Linked DNA regions of Homo sapiens: regions 1, 3 and 4 are each linked to region 2. The links are contacts of gene promoters, found by promoter capture Hi-C in blood cells and fetal thymus (Javierre and others, 2016). All regions are on one chromosome and are shown on one strand. The core of a region is centred on a gene start or on the middle of the fragment in contact, and the rest is flanking DNA. Distances in the headings are between cores, read along the strand shown.

Region 1 (2,735 bases), core at 14-2,513, 78 kb before region 2:
TCCATGGCAGGATCCAGTCAGACCATGCCTTCTGGCATCACCTCACTGCAAGATCCAGTCAGATCACACTTCATTACTTTACGCTAATAAAACCCTACCTAGCCTCCAACTCCTTTTCTCAAAAGCCAAGGCCTTGATATTGGCTTGTATGCACATGGGACTGCAAGCCCATTGACCGCTTGGTAACAAGAGGAGGAAGGATAGTTTGCCGTGCTCTGACACTGCTTCAGCACCTTTTTCTTTCTCGCTCTGAAATAGATCTTCCACTTATGGAGAATGGGCCCTTTCCTACCACCCTAGAAGCTGGGAATGGGTGAGTCTGCACTCTGTTACTAAGACATTCAAATGTGTGACCTTAGCTGACAATCACTCTATCCCTACAAGGTAGGGCATGGTATCCTTACTCTCATTTTATAGATGGAGAAACAGAAATCAGTGATATATTTCCATCTAGGTTCTTGAATGATCACTTGGAGCAAATCTTGCCAGTGCTAATCATCAGAAACCTTACCTTTTCTTTGTAGGAGCAAAAAAGGACTCCTGTTCTGATGAGGTAGTATTCCTTCTAGAGTCAGTCATAGCAGGTGGCATTTTCCTAACTAATACACTAAAGATGATTGAGAACAGGCGACATAAGTAAATGAGGATCCAGGTGAAACTGTGAAGGAATATTACTTGTTTTCAAAGTATATTTTAAACACATATACCTTCTGTATTGGCAGGTGTGTGGGAAAGCAGACTCTCTGAGGCATGGCTGGTGTGAGTATAAATTGATTTAGTCTTTTTCTGAAGGTAACGAACAACATCTATAAAAATCAAGAATTCCCATAGCCTGATTCATCAGCTACTCTTTAGCAATTTACTTTGTAGTCATTCTCTAGAAGTATTCTGGAAAGACATGTTTAAAGGTATTCATCGTGATATTAATGATAAAATTTGGAAAACACATCATTTAGGTACAAACATCATAGCTGCTATGTATGGCAGTAGTTGGCCTATTTTCATAGTATAGTATTCCATTGCATGATTATTTTATTTCATTTTTTTCATTATTTCATTTTTGTTTTCATCATTATTTTATTTCATTTTTCTCCTGTTGATGGACATTTGGCTATTTCCAGTCTAGGGCTCTGGTAAATGCTACTGCACATCACATAAGCGTTTGTTTCTTTTGGGTGGAGTGGTGAGGTCCTAGCATGTGTGGATATTTATCTACTAAAGATCCTGCTGGCCAGTGCAGTGGCTCACATCTGTAATCCCAGCACTTTGGGAGGCCGAGGCGGGCAGATCACCTGAGGCCAGGAGTTCAAGACCAGCCTGGCCAACATGGCGAAACCCCCGTCTCTACTAAAAATATAAAAAATTAGCCAGGCATGGTGGTGGGCGCCTGTAATCCCAGCTACTCGGGAGGCTGAGGCAGGAGAATTGCTTGATGTCGGGAGGCGGAGGCTGCAGTGAGCCGAGATTGCGCCGTTACACTCCAGCATGAGCTACAAGAGCAAAACTCCATTTCAAAAAAAAAAAAAAAAGATCCTGCCAAACTACTTGCAAAGTGGCTGCACCAATTTAGATTCCCATCAGCAGCGGGGATGTTACTCCTGGTATTGTCAGTCTTTTTCATTTGATGGGTCTATGGGTCTGTACTGGTATCTTAGTGTGTGTGTGTGTGTGTGTGTGTGTGTGTGTGTGTGTGTGTGTGTGTGTGTGTGTTTGAAACAGGGTCTCACTCTGTCACCCAGGCTGGAGTGCAAGGGGTGCAATCACGGCTCACTGCAGCCTCCATCTTCTGGGCTCAAACAATCCTCACACCTTAGCCTCCCAAGTATCTGGAACTACAGGTGTGTGCCCCCATGTCCAGCTAATTTTTAAATATTTTTTAGAGATGGGGTCTCACTATTTAGTCCAGGCTGGTCTTGAACTCCTGGGCTCAAGCGATCTTCCTGCCTCAGCCTCCCAAAGTGCTGGGATTACAGGTGTGAGCCACTGCACCCCGCCTTGTGTTTTTATTTGCTTCTGCCTGATCACTGATGAGATTGAGCACCTTTTCAGGCATGTTGGCCATCTGGGTATCCTCTTACAGTTTTTGTTGTTGTTGTTGTTGTTGTTGTTTTGTTGTTGTTGTTGTTTTGAGACGGAGTTTCGCTCTTGCTGCCTAGGCTGGAATGCAATGGCGCGATCTCGGCTCACTGCAACCTCCGCCTCCCAGGTTCAAGTGATTCTCCTGCCTCAGCCTCCCAAGTAGCTGGGATTACAGGCATGCACCACCATGTGCGGCTAATTTTTTTGTATTTTTAGTAGAGACAGGGTTTCACCATGTTGCCCAGGCTGGTTTCAAACTCCTGACCTCAAGTAATCCGCCCATCTCGGCCTCCCAAAGTGCTGGGACTACAGGCATGAGCCACAGCGCCCCACCCCTTTTACAGTTTATAAGACCATACACTTAAGTTCCCTCCACCAGACCACATGAATAACAACATTTGTGTGTGAAAATTAAGATAACCAGTGTATAAAGGGACCAGCAAGGTGCCAGCTCCAGTCCTAGACAATACGGCATCCCTCAACCCCTTTCCCGTGTCCACAGTTCTCAGCTTGGTACCTGGCAGGCAGCAGCACACGGCCTGTGTCAACACTGGGCTATCCTGTAGATGATCGCAGGCCAGGAAGGGAGAAGCCACAGATGTGGATGCCCTCCCAAGAGGCTCCTTAGAGAACTCACACTTGGGTCTCCTCAAACA
Region 2 (2,700 bases), core at 78-2,577:
AAAAACGGCTCACAACAGTCTGAGCTCTGTGAGGTCTGCAAAATGTATTAGGCCTAGAGGGACATGAGTATGGGACTTCGGTTATGCCCACCCTCTGCCCCCACATACACACATACCCAATCCCATGCATACCCAATTGTTTAAAGTCATTTCATTCCTGACTATCGGCCTCATCCATTACCTTTTTTTTTATTATTATTTTTTAGACAGGGTATATTCTGTCTCCCAAGCTGGAGTGCAGTGGTGCGATCATGACTCACTGCAGCCTCGACCTCCTGGGCTCAAGAGATCCTCCTGTCTCAGTCTTGACAGTAGGTGAGGCTACAGGTTCGCGCCACCAAGCCGGCCCCATTATCTTCGTGTTCTTAGAATTTGTAATACATGCCGGGCGCGGTGGCTCACGCCTGTAATCCCAGTACTTTGGGAGGCAAAGGGGGGCAGATCACCTGAGGTCAGGAGTTCGAGACCAGCCTGACCAACACGGAGAAACCCCGTCTCTATTAAAAATACAAAAGTTAGCTGGGCATTGGGGCGCGCGCCTGTAGTCCCAGGACTCCATCTCTAAAAAAGGAAAAAGAATTTGTCATACAAATAACAATATGTAGCCAATTGATAGCTTTTGTTTTTGTTTGTTTGTTTTGAGACGATGCGTCGCCCAGCTGGAGTGCAGTGGCGCGATCTCGGCTCACTGCAACCTCCGCCTCCGGGGTTCAAGCGATTCTCCCGCCTCAGCCTGCCGCGGACCTTGTCAGGGTCCGCGCTGAGAGGACGTCAGGGTAGTCAGTCCGCCAGAATACGGCTGAGCATGAGGCCTGCCTAACCTTGAAACCCAGCGCCCTCCTGATCCACACGTTCTAAGACGAATAAATCCTCACAGTCTGTGAAAACCCACCAGGAGAAGCACGTCCAACACTCTTTACCTCCCCAAACAAGTCTCAGAAGCGGGAAAACCAACGCCGCGAATGGGCGGGAAAGCCACAGCGCCTGCAATCGCTTCACCTTATTAGCTAATTTTGCTGTCCTTCCCAGTGGCCCGCCTCCCTTGCTCGCGGGCGATATTTTTATTGGCTTTCGTCTGCGAGGCGTCCAATCTCATTGGTTTGCCTTTCTGTTCGTCAGGCTTGGGCGCCTGGTGAAAGGCAGAGAGCGCGTCACTATTGGGGCTGGAGGCCCCGCCTCCGCGTGCCGTGTGCAAAAACAAACAGCCGTTAGGAAGGCGGTGCCGGGGGGGCGGGGTCTGGCTAGAAGGAGGCGCGCGATTGAACAGCCGCTGGGGTTCGAACCAGCAAGACAAGCGGGCATTGGCCACAGCAGCGCGAGGCGGGCACGGGGTATTGTCCGGCTCCGGCGGCGGCGGTCGGTGCTGCGAGAGCGGCGGCGGCGGCGCGGGTCGGCAGCGGGAGGGCGCGCGGCCGAGCGGAGGCGGAGTCGGCGCCGAGAACATGGTAAGGGCGGCCGGGTGGGCCGGGGGCACGGGGCCTGGGAGAGCAGAGCGCGGAGGCCCTGGCGTCGGCGCCGCTACCTGTGGAGTCGGGAGTTTGCGGGTGTCTGGGCTTCGTCCGGCCGAGCCCCTCGCCGCCCGCCGGGGGGCGCCATGTCCCAGCTGCGGAGCCCGACACGGGTCCCCGGGTGAGAGCTGGGCCTGGCCGGGTAGAGCGCGAAGTCTGTTCCGAGCCGGATAGATCTGTCCCGACGCTTGTGACGCTGCACCGCCCGTCTTAGAAGGAGGAGGACGGCAGAATCCGGCTTGGAAATGTAGAAACAAGTGCTGGATCTTAATGTGATCGCTTCTCTGTATGAATGAGGTCAAACAGGCTGCCGCTGTACAAGTTAGATAAGTCTTTGGCGATGTTTGGTTACGTAATCTCCCTGGCAGTCAGTTTGAGGGTTTCTGCGAAAGGGTGCTTGTATTTGTGGTCTTTTGAGCGACAAAGAATGGTTTTATAGACCAGAACCACACGATTTGTTCTAGGTGATTGCACAGGTTAGAAATGAACGCCCGTTATCTTCTGAGCCCCTTGCAGTTTGCGGTTTTCATTATACAACAGTACTTTCCTTTGCCCTTGCTATGGATTTTCAGTCTTAAAGTATTCATCTTTTCATTCTGAAATTCAGATCTAGATAAGAAGAGTGTGGCTTTAAAAAAATGAAAGTGAATAGAACTTCAGCCCCATTTTAAAGTTGAGGGGAAAAGAGAAGGTGCTAAAGGATACGCTCTGAGTTGCATCAAAGATTGTGTAAAAATAATAAGACTGTTATGGAATCTTATTTTTGCCGGTATTCGTGCTTTAAGCATTCTGTTGAAAGGTTACTTCAACGGGAGCTACCTGCTTAAAAGTTAGCACCAAGCTGTCATTTATCATACTGCAGATAGTATTAGATGATTTGTCTTGTGCTTGATGTGACAGATATGGTATTGAATAGACATAACACCTAACTGTAAACAGATTGGCCAGTCGAGAGGACAATGTTTGGTTATTGTAAAATACCCAAATCTTAGAGCTGGAATAGACTTTAGGGATAATTGCTTCCAACGTCTAACGTATAGTTTATTGTTATTGTAAAAAACCCAAATCTTAGAGCTGGAATAGACTTTAGGGATAATTGCTTCCAACGTCTCACGTATAGTTTATTGTTATTGTAAAGTACTTTATAGTACTTTATCAAACTGAGGTACAGCTTACATCTAATCTGTAAAAG
Region 3 (2,700 bases), core at 58-2,557, 76 kb after region 2:
AGGTTGCAGTGAGCCGAGATCGCGTCACTGCACTCCCACCTGGAGGACAGAGTGAGACTCTGCTTAAAAAAAAAAAATTAGCCAGGCGTGGTGGTGTAAGCCTGTGGCCCCAGCCACCTGGGAGGCTGAGATGAGAGGAGTGCTTATGCCCTGGAGGTCAACGCTGCAGTGAGCTGTGATTGCACCACTGCACTCCACCTGACAGAGTGACACCCCCCCATCTCTAAAAAATAAAAAAAAAAAAGTGGGAAGAACAATCACACCACGGTTTAACTGATCAGCTACGATGGGAACTGTGAAAGGCATTCCACAGAGTGAATCAAGGCTTCAGGAGGAGGCCCTGACTTATCCTGGAGGCAGAGGGTTCTCCCAGGAATGGCGTCTTAGCTGAAGCCTGACCCAGAAGGTAGACGGGCAGGAACGAGGTAATGTGGAGACTGTTGGGAGCAGGCAAGGACTTCATCCCAAGGCAATGGGAGGCCCTCTGTACTCCCTCTTGTGATAACTGCTTCCCTTCTTTCGGGCAGTGCTCCTGACCCCACTCTAGCTGTGTGGGTGGGTCCCTACCTGGTTGAGTCAACCAGATCCCATCCCTGGGATTTTAAACTTGGAACCAGAAGGAGAGTGATCATCACCTCTTTTCTAGGGTGAATCAATGAGAAGTGAGGCTCCGAAGCTTGGATCTCAAGTTCACAGAAGCAGCTGGTTGAGGGTGAAGCTTGCACACAGAGGCCAAGGAAGGATGCCTACCCATGTCCAGCTGCCCCAGGGCCCTTTCAGGACTGCTATTTTGAGCCCCTTCCTTCCTTAACTGGTTTGAATTGGTCACCGTCACTTGCAACCTATTGAGTCCTAGCTAATGTACCATGACAGGGTTCAAGACTTGGTCAGAGAAGAGCTGGGGTATAGGATGCTGGGGAAGGGTACCCATTAATCCTCCCTTCTAAGTGGTAACTGAGAGAATGAACAAGAACAATATACAGTTAAATGAAAATAAAAAGGCACAGTGGCTCAAGCCTATAATCCCAGCACTTTGGGAGGCCGAGGCAGGCAGATCACAAGGTCAGGAGTTCGAGACCAGCCTAACCAACATGGTGAAACCCCATCTCTACTAAAATTACAAGAATTAGCCAGGCGTGATGGCGCGCCACCTGTAATCCCAGCTGCTCAGGAGGCTGAGCAGGAGAATCACTTGAACCCGGGAGGCGGAAGTTGCAGTGAGCTGAGATCATGCCACTGCACTCCAGCCTGGGCGACAGAGCAAGACTCCGTCTTAAAAAAAAAAAAAAAGAAAATAAACACAGACGCTTTAAGGATCAGTTAACAACAAGACACAGACTCTAATATTCACTGACATAAAGTTTCAGAAAGGGCAAAATTAATCTCTGGTGACAGGGGCCAGAACAGTGATGACCTGGGGTGGGGTGTGGGTTGGTCTCTCCTGTGAGGTTTGGAAGGGCAGGTACACACGCGTGTGCACTTACCAAAACCTACTGCACTGTGCATCCGACTGCACTGATGTCCCTGGCTTCTTTGAGGCAACTTGGGTGACAGGCCATCCTGAGCCAGTCATGTCTTGCCCTCCCACTCAGGGCAGGCAGGATGGGCTGTCTCAATGGCCCCCAAAGCCTGGAAGGCTGGAAGGGTGGCAAGGAGGAAACCCACAGTGGGTAGAGTTACAGGGGTCAGAAGTGGGGGCCACTGCCTGCTGGGGAAGGCCACTGGAGGAAGCTGGGGCAGAATGGGAGGGAAGCTGGCCCCTCACATGAATACGGGGAATTAGGAAGTGTTTTCTCCTCCACAATGTTTGGGAGAATTTGGGGATTTATGTCCATTCTTTAGCATTTGGTAGAATTCACCATCTGGTCCTGGGCTTTTCTTTTGTTGGGAAGCTTTTGATGACTGGTTCTACCTATGTGTTTTAGGTTGGTTCAGATTTTTTCCTTTTTCTTCTTTTTTTGAGGTCAGGTCTCTGTCTCTGCCTCATTCCTGGCTGGAGTGCAGTGGTGCTGTCATAGGTCGTTGCAGCTTTGAACTCCTGGGCTCTAGCTATCCTCCTGCTTCAGCCTCCCAAGTAGCTGGGGCTACAGGCACGTGCCATGACACCTGGTTGATTTCTAAAGATTTTGTCGAGGCAGGGTCTCTGTTGCCCAGGCTGGTCTCGAACTCCTGGCCTCAGGCCATCCTCCTAACTAGTTCTCCCCAAGTGCTGGGATCACAGGTGTGAGCCACTGCACCTGGCCCTGTTCAGATTTTCTATTTTTCCTGGGACAATTTTGGTCATTTGTATCTTTCTAGGAATTTTTTTGTTGTTGTTTTGAGACAGAGTCTCACTCTGTCACCCAAGCTGGAGTGCAATGGCATGATCTCAGCTCACTGCAACCTCTGCCTCCTGGGTTCAAGTGATTTTCCTGCCTCAGCCTCGTGAATAGCTGGGATTACAGGTGTGAGCCACCACGCCTGGCTAATTTTTGTGTTTTTAGTAGAGACAGGGTTTCACCACTTTGGCCAGGTTGGTCTCGAACTTCTGACCTCAGGTGATCTGCCTGCCTCGGCCTCCCAAAGTGCCGCGATTACAGGCGTGAGCCACCACACCCAGCCAAGATGTCGCATCTTTTTAAATGTTGGCATTTGCAGCTATAAATTTCCCTCAGAGCAGTTTTTGCCGCATTCCTTAAGTTCTGGTATGTTGTTTTCATC
Region 4 (2,700 bases), core at 24-2,523, 130 kb after region 2:
AAAAGTCACTAAGAGTTAACACTGTAACATGTAATTGAGACTACTGAAGAAACAATTTTACATGCAAGGTGTGTAAAAAAGTGAAATGTGTTTTTGGTAAAAGATTATAAGAAGTCATGGGAATGTACATTTTTTTGACTAGATTAATGGGTTAAATGATTGTATTAAGTTAGATGGAATAAAGCTGAAGGTTTAAGCAAATTGTGGAAGGTTTGTAAAAAATTAATCCTGTAGACTGGGCATGGTGGCTCACTCCCGTAATCCCACCACTTTGGGAGGCAAAGGCAGGTGGATCACTTGAGGTTGGGAGTTCGAGACCAGCCTGGACAACATGGTGAAACCCCATCTATACTAAAAATACAAAAAAAATTAGCTGTGCATGGTGGCACACGCCTGTAGTCCCAGCTACACAGGAGGCTGAGGCAGGAGAATTGCTTGAACCTGGGAAGTGGAGATTGCAGTGAGCCAAGATTGTGCCACTGCACTCCAGCCTGGGCAACAGAGCGAGACTCCATCTTGGAAAAAAAAAAAAAAAACAGAAAAAAATAATAATCTTGTTAAAAAAATTCAGTGTATGGGCCAGACATGGTGGCTCACGCCTGTAATCCCAGCATTTTGGGAGGAGGCTGAGTCGGGTGGATCACTTGAGGTCAGGAGTTCAAGACCAGCCTGGCCAACATGGCAAAACCCAGTCTCTACTAAAAATTAAAAAACATTAGCTGGGCATGGTGCTATGAGCCTGTAATCCCAGCTACTCAGGGGGCTGAGACATGAGAATCACTTGAACCTAGGAGGTGGAGGTTGTAGTAAGCCAAGATCATGCCACTGCACTTTAGCCTGGATGACAGAGTGAGACTCTGTCTAAAAAAAAAAAAAATTCTGTGCGTGAATATATTGGCTAAAGTTAAGGGGATATTATTCAGTTTTTCTGTAAATTAAACATTGGAATAAAAGCAAAATATGTTTTTCTTAAAGCAAAAACCTGCTTATAATATGCTCTTTAACAAAAATTTGTAAAGGGTTATAAAAGGTTTATGAGAATCTTACCTTATGGTTAAACATTGACGTTGGGTAGATATGTCTATAAGGTTTTATTGAGAATTGGGTTTAACATTAATAATACACTAATGTAAAGGTGAAAGTTTGTCTTATTTGGTACAAAAATCATACAGGAAACATTGTCAAATTGAAATGGTATTTGGCTTTCTTGAGGCTGTATTTTTATAAATATGTTCTTGGTATGTGTTCCAAAATAATGGGAAACTCATAATTCAGATATGACTTAGTATATGTTATTAATAATTATAATTGTTACATAAAGTCATTGTATTCCACAGAGGTAACCAAATTTCTTTGTCAATTGTGTTGTTGACTGTGGCCGTCCTAAGACATTTTGTCATCCATAAATAATTGTTGTCTTGTTTTGGTCCTCTTTAGAAGGTGGTTTATAATCAACTATAGAACTCTAACAGATGTTCTTAAACGCAGGTTTCTGATAACTTTTGAGATTGTGACATTAGAGTAGAGGAAAATACTTTCAGGACTCTCATGAAGAGCTGAAATGTTCATGAATATCAAACAGGAGTTAACTGCATGTAATAAACTAATAGAAGCCTGAAGTAATCTTTTTTAACATTTGCTTAAAATGTTACTAATCCTTTGCTTTGTTTTTCAGAGTTAAGAAAAAATTTCTTTTTAGCTATTTACAGCTTTTAACAATTGAGTAAAGTGAACAAAATTTAGAGCATATTTGTTTCTCTCTACCTGGTTTCTCCAGAATTTGGAAACTAGTTGTGAGTATTCTTAACTTATGGTGATGTAGTTATTGGCATAAGTGCAATAAGAATCTGTTTTTAGCCAGGCGCAGTGCCTCACGCCTGTAATCCCGGGACTTTGGGAAGCCGAGGTAGGTGGATCACCCAAAGTCAGGAGTTCAAGACCACCCTGGGCAACATGGTGAAACCTTGTCTCCACTAAAAATACAAAAATGAGTCAGGCATGGTGCTGGGCACCTGTATGCTGTCCCAGCTACTCGGGAGGCTGAGGCGGCAGAATTGCTTGAACCTGGGAGGCGGAGGTTGCAGTAAGCTGAGATCATGCCATTGCACTCCACCCTGGTGACAAGAGCAAAACTCTGTCCCCGCACCCCCCCAAAAAAAGAGTCTGTTTTTGCAACAGGACACGATTGGAGAAACTGGTTATTTTAGGCCAGGTGCAGTGGCTCACACCTGTAATTCCAGCACTTTGGGAGGCTGAGGTGGGTGGATCACAAGGTCAGGAGTTCAAGACTAGCCTGGCCAAGATGGTGAAACCCCGTCTCTATTAAAAATACAAAAAAATGGCCAGGTGTGGTGGCTCACGCCTGTAATCCCAGCACTTTGGGAGGCCAAGGCGGGCAGATCACGAGGTCAGGAGTTCAAGACCCACCTGGACAACATGATGAAACCCCGTCTCTACTAAAAATACAAAAATTAGCTGGGCACAGTGGCACACCCCTGTAATCCCAGCTACTCAGGAGGCTGAGGCAGGAGAATTGCTTGAACCCAGGAAACGGAGGTTACAGTGAGCCAAAATTACACCACTGCACTCCATCCTGGGTGACAGAGTGAGACTCCATCTCAAAAAAAACCCCAAAAACCAAAAAACAAAAAAATTAGCTGGGCATGGTGGTAGGTGCCTGTAATCCCAGCTACTCGGGAG

Evidence for each region. Contacts are between HindIII fragments. The CHiCAGO score rates a contact against its expected background, and 5 or more counts as called.
Region 1: a fragment that was not itself captured here is called in contact with the fragment with the promoter of H2AZ2 in region 2 in 17 of 17 cell types (total CD8 T cells, megakaryocytes, activated CD4 T cells and 14 more); the score reaches 22.4 in total CD8 T cells.
Region 3: a contact is called between a fragment that was not itself captured here and the fragment with the promoter of H2AZ2 in region 2, in 2 of 17 cell types (total CD8 T cells and monocytes). The highest score is 8.0, in total CD8 T cells.
Region 4: a contact is called between a fragment that was not itself captured here and the fragment with the promoter of H2AZ2 in region 2, in 1 of 17 cell types (monocytes). The highest score is 5.4, in monocytes.

Annotation. Positions count from the first base shown.
Region 1 is chr7:44,924,220-44,926,954 of GRCh38, reverse strand. No RefSeq gene overlaps it. Among named protein-coding and RNA genes, the nearest start is that of PURB, 40 kb to the right of the region's middle. The HindIII fragment of the contact is 4,333 bases long and covers 1-2,735 here.
Region 2 is chr7:44,846,714-44,849,413 of GRCh38, reverse strand. It overlaps H2AZ2 (H2A.Z variant histone 2), which reads left to right and starts at 1,327. Exons shown (of 5, transcript NM_012412.5): 1 at 1,327-1,445. The coding sequence starts at 1,443. H2AZ2-DT (H2AZ2 divergent transcript) reads right to left here and starts at 943. Exons shown (of 2, transcript NR_187581.1): 1 at 893-943. RefSeq lists silencers at 992-1,051, 1,312-1,701 and enhancers at 628-1,186, 1,187-1,744. The HindIII fragment of the contact is 6,622 bases long and covers 1-2,700 here.
Region 3 is chr7:44,770,395-44,773,094 of GRCh38, reverse strand. No RefSeq gene overlaps it. Among named protein-coding and RNA genes, the nearest start is that of ZMIZ2, 23 kb to the right of the region's middle. The HindIII fragment of the contact is 1,174 bases long and covers 721-1,894 here.
Region 4 is chr7:44,719,522-44,722,221 of GRCh38, reverse strand. No RefSeq gene overlaps it. Among named protein-coding and RNA genes, the nearest start is that of ZMIZ2, 28 kb to the left of the region's middle. The HindIII fragment of the contact is 5,346 bases long and covers 1-2,700 here.